Regions from separate parts of the Homo sapiens genome. Here region 1 is linked to region 2. Evidence: promoter capture Hi-C in human tissues and cell types (Jung and others, 2019). All regions are on one chromosome and are shown on one strand. Each heading gives the region's core, a stretch centred on a gene start or on the middle of the fragment in contact. The rest is flanking DNA. Distances are from core to core; before and after follow the strand shown.

Region 1 (6,411 bases), core at 1,245-3,744, 59 kb after region 2:
AGAGCAAGAGCAAGACCCTGACTCTTTTTTTTGAGGTGGAGTTTTGCTCTTGTTGCCCAGACTGGAGTGCAATGGTGTGATCTCATCTCACCGCAACCTCCACCTCCTGAGTTCAAGTGATTCTCCTGCCTCAGCCTCCCGAGTAGCTGGGATTACAGGCATGTGCCACCACACCTGGCTAATTTTGTATTTTTAGTAGAGACAGGGTTTCTCCATGTTGGTCAAGCTGGTCTCGAACTCCCAACCTCAGGTGATCCGCCCACCTCAGCCTCCCAAAGTGCTGGGATTACAGGCATGAGCCACCGCGCCCGGCTGACCCTGTCTTTAAAATAAATAAATAAGTAAATTGGCAGGCACTGTGGCTCACACTTGTAATCCCAGCACTTGAGAGGCCAAGGCAGGCAGATCATTTGAGGTCAGGAGTTTGAGACCATCCTGGACAACATGGCGAAACCCAGTATCTACTAAAAATACAAAAATTAGCCAGGCATGTGGTGCATGTCTGTAATCCCAACTACTCAGGAGGCTGAGGCAGGAGAATCGCTTGAACCTGGTAGGCGGAGGTTCCAGTGGGTCGAGATCGAGCCACTGCACTCCATCCTGGGCGACAGAACGAGACTCTGTCTCTCAAAAATAAATATCTAAATAAATAATAAATAAATGAAATCAGTTTTAAAAGCTGCGGAGCCCTGCTGAGGATTTTCCCGTCCAGCGAGGCTTTCAATCCCAGAGCATGTAAGGAAGACTGGGGAGAGAGGTCTGCACTTAGATGGCCAGACACCAATGACCCTGAGCCTGTCTGGTACAGGGCCCTACTTTGTGACACCAAGGTCTGCAGAGCCCAGGGCGTCCTGGCCAAGGCAGTGGTAAGATGTCACCAGGCACAGTGGTATGGCCTGAGGGCAGAGCAGCCTCACCCTGGGCAGGGTCTTCTTCACCCTTGTGTTGTCTCATGTTGGCCCCCTCCAGCACAGGCACAAAGAGGGCTCCCACCTGACACGCTGGCATTCCCAGAGGCTGTCACAGGTTAATGCCCCCAACACAGGTAGAGATCGCACACATCCCTCCTCTTCCCGTCCTCCCCAGGGTGAAAAACAACAGCAACATCAAACAACTGAACAGAGATTTTGGCTTGGAGAGTAAAGTTCAGAGCTGCCCCGCCCCTCCCTTCGGGGTGAGAGGTCACTCCAGCAGCGCTGTGGGTAGCAGGGAAGGAGCTATTTACAATCCCGGCTGGGGTCTAAGCCTCGCTGCCACGTGGGTTTGCCACTCGGGGCCTGCAAGTCTGCCGATATCCACCAGGTGGCGCAGCACCTGGGCTGGGACTCGCCGGAGCTGTGAGGGGAGCTTGGGATGGGTTTGCGGTCGGTGGAGCGGGTGTTGGTCCTTGAGGGGACTCAAGCAGCTGCGCCGTAGGACCCTCTGTTCTCAGGCCTGGGGCAGGGTGGGCTAAGGCCCAGCCCACTCTCCGTCCATTTCTCTTATCCCCACTCTCTTCTTTTCCTCCCCTAGTTGTAGATGCCATGGGGTTGGGAGTGGACTTGGGCTCAGTCCACAGCCGTCCAGCCCAGACCTACTCGGCACGCAAATCTCGCCATTCTCTCTCAACCTCCATGTTCCGTCCAGCTGGCAAACCAGGGATACAGACTGGGCTGGAGGTACGTGGCAGGGACAGAGGCGTGGACTGGAGGTGGTGGTGACGGGGCTGGGGGGCCATGGATTGGAATGAAGGACACAAGCTGGGACCAGGAGACAAGGACTAGGATGAGGGGGGCGGGAGGATATGGAGGGGGGGAACGAGGGGCATGAGCTGGGTTGGGGGCATGGACTGGCAAGAGGGGTCCAGGTGGGAGGTGATGGGAACACAGGCTCGGTGTCTGCAGCCTGTGGACGACAGTCTGGGGAAGTGTGACGCGGATGGGATAGCCCAGATGTGCTGGGGCCAGGTCAGCCAGAGACACACTGGGCCCAGAGCAGCAGAGCAGCTTCAGGCTGAACCTAGTGATGTGGCCTGTGATCTGACTCCAAAGAGGTCTGGCCTCCTCCAGTCTCCTCCGGTGTGGCCTGGGGGAGGGGCAGATATGACTCCTCCCCAGAGTGTTAGCACCAAACTCTTGGCCTTCGCCACAGCATCTGGCCCCAGGTAATTACAGGGGCCAAGCCTGGCTATAAAAGGATGGATGGGCCAGCCTAGGAACCTGGGAGAGCTAGGTTCAACTGACCGGAGGTCCACCAGCCTGCCTCTGAGAGGCTGGCATTGGCCAGGGGATACTAGAGTTTCACATTCAATGGCATACACTTCATATGCCATACACCAATCATATAATCTCATAACCTTGCAACCACACACAGTCAATCAAACTCGGTGCTGAGGGAGAGGGGGCTGGGGGGCAAAGCAGGGAGGAAAGCAGGGGCTTTGTTCACACCACTGAAGTGGGAGAGGCCCCCCACGGGACTGAGGGACCAGTCCAGGCACCCACAGGAGGGAACACGCACACACACTCATCCATCACTTGCACACACATCCATGTGTGCACATTCGACCCGTTTTGCGGCCGTCACACTCAAGCCATTCATGGGTATTAGGCACATACTAACGCCCCACTGTCTATAACACACTCACGCAGGCACCAGACCCCACACAGGGCAAGGGGCTCCCAGGTACCCTGAGCCGCGCTTGCATCCAGGGTCACATACGGTGACACACTTGAGGGCTGGCATTCAACAGATGATACAATTCTCTAACACGGACCCAATGACAATCCCAGCCAAGCCAACTGGGCAAACCCTAGAGTCAAGAAAATCAGAAGAGGGAGGAGGTGGGAGGGGGTAGATCAGAGCCACATTCACACCCTCTGGAAACCGATAGGTCATTTCAACAGCCACAGGAGACACAAAAACAACCTCTAGGACCCCAAGGATATACCCAGACACATACACAAACACAAGGAGAGGCAGGGGCTTCTCAATCACATCCATATGTGCACCCACAGATACGTGCCCACACCCAACATCACACGCAGTGCCCACCACATTCTTCCCAGGGACCTTGGGAACCTCCTACCCACTCCTGCCTTGTGCTGGTGAAGGAGAAGACAATGGTGGGGAGCAGAGGGGGCTGGGAAGAGTAAGAGCTAAGCTTGAGACAGGAGAAAGCCCTCTTCCCACACCACAGACATGCCTGCACACACACACACACACACACACACACACACACACACACACACACATACACAGATGCCAGACCTTGAGCCTCCAGGGAGAGCCCTGAGGAGAAATCAACAGAGGCTGTCCAACTCCACGTGGGGCCATGCCCATATCTGACCACCTGGACACCAGCACTGCCCACTCTGGGCACAGACCCCAGGCCTGGCCTCTCTGCACCATTAAGCACACTGGGCATGGAGGGTGACCCTCGCATCCCTCTGTGACCCCAGGCTTGTCACTTGGGTGCCCTTCAGGGCCTGGCAGGACCTGGTCTGACAGTGGAAAAAGCAAATATTCTCAGTGCCCTCCTAATACGGCCCCCAAAAGAGGCCTTAAGAGCCTTCCTCCCTCCTTGCAGGCTAAGCACACAGCAGGCATCATGCTAACCCCTGGGTATACAACCCCGAGTCTGGCGGCCATTTGGCTGGGCCTCTGGCCAGAGTTGTCAGGGAAGACTTTGGGAGAGATGAGAGGCTTGAGGGATGATTGGCAGTTTGCCAGCTAGGGTGTGGGTGTTGGCTGGGAGGGACTACGAGGGGAGACAGGCCAGCAGAGGGGGCAGCATGATCAAAAGGACGGAGGCTGCTGTGTTTATGTTTCACAGCATAAGCAGTCACAAAAACATTCACACTCACAACAGAGCACGCCCTTTTCACACAGGGCGCCTTTGTACACATGTGCACCCTCCTGGAGCAACACTCTGCAGTTTGTTCGCTCCAGGCTGCCCTCACACCACTCCGTGGCACCATCCCCGCAGTCTCCATGAGATGACATCCCTTAGAGATCCTCTCACACCTGCACCCTGCTGAAGGGCTGCCTGTCTGTGGGTGCCCACAGTGAGCACCCAGAGTTGAGGGAGCCTCCTCTCCTGGGACAAGTGGTTGGGAAGCCGGGGACATCTGAGCAGTCCCTGAGCCTTCTAGGGCTGGAGCGAGCAGAGAAGCCGAGGAGACTGTGGCTGCCTGAGATTCTTAGAAGCAGCAATTCTCTTTTAGCCAAAAGCACTTAAGCAGAGGCCTGAGTTAAAAATAGGCTGGATTTACTGCCAGAAGGTGGCAGGAGAGGAAGTTTCTTTCTGACGGTACTCATTCTATCCCAAACACCTACAGAGGCTCTATGGGACCCTGCTGGGCTGGGGAACTCCACCCAACTGTTCTGTGTGCCAAGGGGGTGGCCAGCACACCCCTTGTGATCTTCATTTTATCTCCTTTATTGGTTCATAATACTACACTTACATTTTTTTGTGGTTCTTTTAGGATTACACAATGCTTCTTTAACTTATAGTCTATCTCCATCAAGTAATATCACACCACTCAGCGCAAACACCTTCCTCCCATTCCCCACCTCTCCGCCTTTGTGCTATTGTCACCATGGATTTATTTCTACACATGCTATAAGCCCCACAATACATTATTAGATTTGCTCTAAACCCTCAAGTATCTTTTAAAGAGAATTTTAAAATCAGAAAAATATCTTTTCTATCTACCCACATATTTACCATTTCCAGCTCTCTTCATTCCTTTGTGTAGACGGAGATTTCCATCTGGTATCATTTTTCTTCTGCTTGAAGGACTTTTTAAAGCCGTTCTTCTAGTGCAGGTCTACTGATGATGAATTCTTTCAATTTTGGAATGTCTGAATGCATCTTTATTCCATCTTCCTATTTGAAAGATATCTCCACTGAATTCTAGGTTGACAGTTTTTATCTTTTCGTACTTTAAAGACATTACTCCACTGTCTTCAGGGTTGCATTGTTTCTGACGAGAAATCACTTCTATTTTTCCTTTTTACACAATGTGTTTTTTTCCTCTGGCAGCTCTTAAGATTTGTGTCTTTATCACTGGTGTTCAGCAGTGATTAAGGCAGATTATGATGTACCCTTGGTGTAGTTGTCTTCATATTTCTTCTGCTTAGGGTTTATTGAGCTTCTTCGACATAGGGATTTATAGTTTCCATCAAATTTGAAAATTATTGTTCCTTCAGATATTTTTTCTGTCATCTCTCCTGTGAATCTGTTAGACCCACGTTTCTGGTCTCCAAACAGGTATACAGGCTACTTGTTATTCCACAGCTCACTGATTTTCTGGATTTTGGTTTTGGAGGTTTTGTTTTTGTTTTTTGTTTTTTGTTTTTAAGTCTTTTTTTCCTCTCTGTGTTTCATCTTGGATAGTTTCTATTGCTAAGTCTTCAAAAACCTGTTTTCTACAGGGTCTAATCTGCTTTTATTTCCATCCAGTATACTTTTCATCTCAGATATTATACATTTCATCTTTAGAAGTTCAATTGAGGTCTTATTTTATATCTTCACACCTCTTTACATCGTGTTTATGTTTTTCCATATCTGTTTGAATATATGGATGGTATTTAATAATAGCTATTGGAGCTAAAGTCCTTGTCTACTAATTCTGTGACATTTCTGGGTCAGCTTTGTGTCATTATTTGCCTGTGTCTTTGCATGCCTGGTAATTATTGATTGGATGCCAGACATTGTATATTTTATGTTGTTTGGTGCTAGATTTTTTTGTATTCCTTTGAATATATTTGAGCCTCGTTCAGGGACTTAGTTAAGTTCCTTGGAAACAGATTGATCCTTTTAAGGTGTGCTTTTAGGTACCATTTGGCAAGAGGAGAATAGCCTTTGGTCTAAGGCTAATTTGCTCTCACCACTGAGGCAGTATCATCTGATGACTCTACTTGATGTCCCATGTATCAGTCAGTATCTAGTCAAGAGGCAGAAACCACACAGCAATTTGAACAGGGAAAGTTTAATGTAAAAAGAAAAAAAATTTTTTTTTGAGACAAGGTCTTGCTTTGTTACCCATGCCGGTATGCAGTGGTGCAATCATGGCTCACCATAGCTTCCACCTCCTGGGCTGAAGTGGTTCTCCAGCCTTAGCTTCCTGAGTAGCTGGGATCACAAGCGTGTGCTACCACACCTGGCTAATTTTTACATTTCTTTTGTAGAGACAGAGGGTCACCCTATGTTGCCTAGGCTGGTCTGGAACTCCTGGACTTAAGCAATCCTCCCACCTCAGCTTCCCAAAGTGCTGGAATCACAGGTGTGACCCACCACATGCAGTCTAATGTAAAAAGGTATTAACTTAACAAGGAATTGAGGTTAGAAGGGATTGGCTAGTAAGAAATAAACAGAACTCTAAATGAATACAGGAATAGGGGGCCAGATGCAGTGGCTCATGCCTGTAA
Region 2 (5,638 bases), core at 787-3,286:
ACTGCCACACATTCCGGAGAGCCCTGGCTGGGGACAGCTGCAGGGTTGGCACCCAGGGCTGGAATCCTACAGCCTCTTCTCAGGGTTTTGGGGAACAATACCACAGTATCCAGGGCTGGAGAGGCCTGTGGTCAGGGACCTGGCTGTGCTGTGTCCAGTGAACACTAGCCAGCGCCCAGAAGGGGCCCAAAAAACCCTGGACAGGGTACAGGTGAGGAGACTGAATTTTTTTGTTTCTGTTTGTTTGTTTTGTTTTGTTTTGTTTTGAGATGGAGTTTCGCTCTTGTTGCCCAGGCTAGAGTGCAGTGGAGTGATCTCGGCTCATTGCAACCTCCGCCTCCTGGGTTCAAGAGATTCTCCTGCCTCAGCCTCCTGAGTAGCTGGGACTACAGCTGCGTGCCACCACGCCCGGCTAACTTTTTGTATTTTTAGTAGAGACGGGGTTTCACGATGTCAGCCAGGATGGTCTTGATCTCCTGACCTCCTGATCCACCGCCTCAGCCTCCCAAAGTGCTGGGATTACAGGTGTGAGCCACCGCACCTGGCCCCCCCGCTTTTTTTTTTCTTTAGAGATGGAGTCTCACACTGTCACCCAGGCTGGATTGGAGTACAGTGGCACGATCATAGCTCACTGCAGCCTCAAACCCCTGGGTTCAAGAGATCCTTCCACCATAGCCTCCCCAGTAGCTGGGACTACAGACATGTGTCATTACATCTGGCTAGTTTTATTTATTTTCTATTTTTTTATTTTTTATAGAGACAGGGTCTCGCCATGTTGCCAAGGCTGGTCTCAAACTCCTGGGCTCAAGTGATTCTCCCACCTCGGCCTCGCAAAGTGCTGGGATTACAGGCATGAGCCACCGCACCCGGCCAGGACTGGGTGCATTTTGAGTCCCCGGGATAGACATGCTAATGTGCTTACCTATGTGTTTCACACCATCCATGATTGACCGAAAGAACTTGCGGACCCGGTCAGCCACCTCTTTGGTCTTCCGGGCAATAGCTTTAATCTTGTTCAGGGCACCTGATGGGTGAGGGACAGAGGCACTTTGGAGTCTTCTCCTCTAGGGGCTGGTTCTCACCATTGCCCCTTAAGCAGGGAGTAGAGAGGAGGCCACCATTTCCAGAGGCGGGAAGCCTGGATTCTGGGGCCTGGGAGATCGTTAATCTGGGAGTGGAGGAGGCCAGAGAGCAAGGAGAGAGGGTTTAGCTGTGCCCAGAGTCCCTTCCAGGCCCAGATGCTCCGCGATTAGCACCAGCAGAGAAGGAGGCCAAAGGACTGTAGAACATGCAGGATGAGGGGGGCGAGGGGGGCCCGTGGGAGACAGTGGTAGAGGTGGGGGACTTACTGACAAGAGGTTGCTTGGCCCTCTGTAGCACTTCGGCGGTCTGGTTCAGGGCCAGCTCTGCCCCACAGGCTACAGCCTCGCTGGCCCGGGTGAAGTTGCGTAGAGTGTTGGCACAAGGCCCTTGAAGCACCAACCCAAAAGCAGCCACCAACAGTAGTGTCCGGCCCTGCCCTGGGGGCGACAGCTTTGTTAGAACCAAGACCCCAGCCCCAAACATGGCAGCAAGTCCCTTACATAAGCCTTCAGAATATTTCCCTTAACCCCTGCCTCTCCTCCAGCATCTCTTCTGCCCCAGCACCAGCCCCAGGACCTGCCCCCTAGCCCTGGGTGCCAAGCTCACTGGAGAAGGCCTGAGGCAGCAGCAGGAGGACAGTGGCTCGGACCTGGCGAGAGAATCCCATGCCCAGGCTAAGGAAGGCAGCCAAAGTGAGGGTGCCCACCAGGCAACCCCAGGGGCTGTGGCCTTCCACCAGTAGCTCCAGAAGCCCGTAGGCCGTGGCTAAAGACAAGCCCAGGGTAAAACCTCCCACGCTGCGAACCACAGCTCTCGCCATGCTAGGCTCCTCTCCCCCCAAGGGGTGCACAACATCCTTCATGACTTTGGGCATGGCTGCTGAGACCAAATGTCTGCCTGTCTCCAGGAGATGCCCGCTGACTTCTGTGCTCCTGGAATTTCTCACCGTATTCTAAGGTTCCAAAGGGCTTTCACTGCATATGTCTTGGAATCCTTGACCCAGTTCCGAGGACTGGAGAGGGGATAGGTAGGTCTCTAATCTCCTTCCCCACTTCTCGGAGCAGAAGGATTAAAAGGCCCAGAGCTCAGGCCTAGGCTTCCCATGAAGCGGAAGAGACAGGCAGCACCTCTCTTCTCTCACCAGAACCTTGTGTCCAAGGAGGTCCTTCAGGAGACCTGGGATGAGTGGTGCTTCCCCAAAACAGACTCATGGACATTAAACATCATCAGAATGGCACAAGAGGGCAAAGAAGAAAACAGCCTCATACCAGTGAGTCACTCAGCAGAGACCCAGTATCCCTTGACCTCCACTCTCATCCCATCTCTCCTCCTGGAACTCCTGCACACTATCCCCCAACTCGGTGTCCGCGCCTCCACCACCTCTCTGGTCTAGTGCCTCCCGCCTCCCAGCCCAGCCCTTGCCTTTGCTGTCCCTTACACCCATACCACTTCCTCAGGCTCCCTCATCCTCCTCCAGGGTCCCCTAAGTTCCTACTGTTTCACATGCCAGGTTTCCCCAGCCTCTATCCACCTGCAAGCCCTGAATCCTAATGAGCCCCATCCCAGGCAGAAGAGTGGGCTGTTGAGCTACCCTGTCCCCCTCTTAGCGGTGCAGAGGCTCCTGACCTGGGGGCTGCCAGTCTCCTGTAGCTGGTTCCTGTGGCGCCAGCCGGGCGAGTTTCCTGTCACTGCTCTCCTGCTGGGGGCAGGCGCTGGGGGGCTCCTGGCCATAGGTGAGTGTGGAAGCAGAAAGTTCGGGGTGGGCAGAGGCTGGACCAGGGCTAGGACCCATCTTTTGGCCTTTGGCTTGACCTTGTGCCCTTAGGTCTCTTTCAGCTCCTGGTGAACCCCATGAACATCTACGAAGAACAGAAGATTATGTTCTTGTACAGCTTGGTGGGTTAGTGCTGGGCAAAAGCCAGGAACACTCAAGCGGCCTGTGGAACACAGCGCCGTCCTGCATGCCCAGGAAGGAGTCGGGACTTGTTTCTTCTGTACCCATACATCCCCTGTGGCTTCCGCCTCCTCCTGGGCTTTACGGGGAGGTCCAGAGGGAAGAGGCTGCCAATTTAAGAAGGAAGACACCGTCCTTGCCCTGAGGGAGTCTCTCCATTCCGAGGGACTCCCCATCACCCACATGATATAGTCCAACCCCATAACCCTTCATAACTCTCATCTCTCCTGACCTGTCTGACCTCGTTTTCTGATCCTCCTAAGAAATTAAATTCATTCATTCATTCATTCATTCACTCAGCACTTACTGAGAATCTGCTGAGGATTTAGCAGTAAACAAGGATGACAAGCATCCAGCCGTTTTGCTTTGGTTTTGTTTGTATGTTTTTGTTTTCGTTTTGAGACGGAGTCTCGCTCTGTTGCCCAGGCTGGAGTGCAGTGGCTCAATCTCAGCTCACTGCAACCTCCACCTCCCAGGTTCAAGCCATTCTCCTGCTCAGCCTCCCAAGTAGCTGGGATTACAGGCACCCATCACCATGCCCAGCTAATTTTTGTATTTTTAGTAGAGACGGGGTTTCTGTATGTTGGCCAGGCAGGTCTCGAACTTCTGACCTCAAAAGATCTACCTGCCTCGGCCTCCCAAAGTTCTGGGATTACAGGTGTAAGCCACCGTGCCCAGCCCAGTTTGGATAATTTAACAGCTCAGTAGCTTCGAGAAGGACTCAGGTTCCTTCTGTCTTTTCTCTGCCATCTTCAGTCTATTGACCACTTCTCTTCAGGTCACAAGATAGCTGCAGCAACTCTGGCATCACATCTTCATACAATAATATCAAAGATCAGAAAAAAATAAAAAAAGAGGAAGAAACAGGCCAGGCACAATGGCTCACGCCTGTAATCCCAGCACTTTGGGAGGCTGAGGCGGGTGGATCACCTGAGGTCAGGAGTTTGAGACCAGCCTGGCCAACATGGTGAAACCCTGTCTCCACTAAAAATACAAAAATTAGCCGGATGTGGTGGTGCACACCTGTAGTCCCAGCTTCTTGGGAGGCTGAGGCAGGAGGCTTGCTTGAACCCAGGAGGCAGAGATTGCAGTGAGTGGAGATCGTGCCACTGCACTCCAGCCTGGGTGACAAGAGCGAAAGGCCATCTCAAAAAAAAGAAAAGAATAGAAGTTCAATCCCAGGCCCAACTTCACTGTCTTGGGCTGTGCGATTTGAGGCCAGGGAAAAAGGAAAATGACCTAGGTGACAGAGTGAAACTCTGTCTCAAAAAAAAAAAAAAAAAAAAAAAAGGAAGAAACATCCTTTCCTCATGTCTCTTTTTAGGAACAAGGGAAACTTGCCTATAATCCCCACAGTAGACTTCCTCACATCTCTTTGGTCAGAACTGCGTGCAACACATGCCCTTTCCTGAACCTGTCCCAGGCAAGGGAAATAGAATTAGCATTTCATCACCTGTTTATTGAATTAATCCTGCTGGATACCAACAGGAGACTACTTTTTCTCTGACCCACTGTATTCAAACATGTTTTTTCCCATTGATAACCTTTCACACAGCCCCTTAGATTTCTGGTTGTATTTCTTTAGAAGACCTAGTCCTACTTCAACAATTAAGACTTATTTTTAGGGGTTAAAGAGGTCCAGTCCACTCTACATCAGACTTTTAACCTCATCCATTCTCAAGCATCTTCCCTCCTTATCTTGCCCTCCCCATCCCTTGCGCCCCCAGCTCAGGCCTGCTCCCTAGCATGGGGTCCTGCAATGGAGAAGGGGCGTGGCCTGCTCTTTCCCTTTTTTCCTCTACTTCCTTCCCTTTCTGGTTCTTCTGATGTCAGAAGGGAGATTAGAAGAATTAGAGGAAAAGGGACAAAAGTCTTAAGTCACTAATGCTATTATAATTCCACTGTGGATGCCTGCGTGTAGCAGGCACTCACACCCTGGCTGTCCCAGTAGGCCTGATTATTGTCCCCTTGGAGGCTGTGTGTGGACCTCGGCAATGCCCGGTTTCTTGCAGAGGGCAGTTCTTTTTGGCTGACCTCGAGTGAAGCCCCCCTTCAGGGGCCACCCACAGCCTCTTGCTTTTTGGATCCCTCCCTCCAGCAGGCTGGGAGTGCACACGTCCGTGCCCTGCCAGGCAGAGAAAGCAGTGCACCTTCCTTTTTGTGGAGAATGGGGTCTCGCTATATTGCCCAGGCAGGTCTCAAACCCCTGGGCTCAAGCTATCCTCCCGCCTCTGCCTCCCTAAGAGCTGGGATTACAGGCGTGAGCCACCAACGCCCCATCAAAAGCAGAGCACCTTATGGTTGCCTCTCTCCTGCCCTGATGAGAAGCAGATGCCAGTCTCCATGCTTGTGTGCCAACATCGTCCAGGGGAGGTCTACAGAGGCATTACAGAGGCTGAGCTCTCCCAGGAGCTCTCCCTCCACTCTGTGCTCTGGTGGGAGCCCTGGAGTGGCCTCATGAGGCTCTGCACTCAGCAGGAGTCTAGTCTACAGAGACCAGGCAGGTTCCCCTTCCTGCAGCGCCAGTCCCTGAAGCCTCTTGGACTCCTGGAGTCTCTCACTTGACATGTGACACCCATCCTCTCCACAGACTCTCCCTCT

What was found. Contacts are between HindIII fragments. The study calls those that stand out against the background at their distance.
Region 1: a contact is called between a fragment that was not itself captured here and the fragment with the promoter of DCST2 in region 2, in 1 of the 25 tissues and cell types used here (adrenal gland).

The regions. Positions count from the first base shown.
Region 1 is chr1:155,090,319-155,096,729 of GRCh38, forward strand. No RefSeq gene overlaps it. Among named protein-coding and RNA genes, the nearest start is that of EFNA3, 15 kb to the left of the region's middle. RefSeq lists an enhancer at 3,200-3,814. The HindIII fragment of the contact is 5,721 bases long and covers 1-5,355 here.
Region 2 is chr1:155,031,745-155,037,382 of GRCh38, forward strand. It overlaps DCST2 (DC-STAMP domain containing 2), which reads right to left and starts at 2,037. Exons shown (of 15, transcript NM_144622.3): 1 at 1,690-2,037; 2 at 1,350-1,520; 3 at 923-1,024; 4 at 1-27. The coding sequence starts at 1,957. DCST1 (DC-STAMP domain containing 1) reads left to right here and starts at 2,080. Exons shown (of 17, transcript NM_152494.4): 1 at 2,080-2,110; 2 at 2,228-2,353; 3 at 2,691-2,816; 4 at 2,909-2,983. The coding sequence starts at 2,293. The HindIII fragment of the contact is 8,066 bases long and covers 1-4,632 here.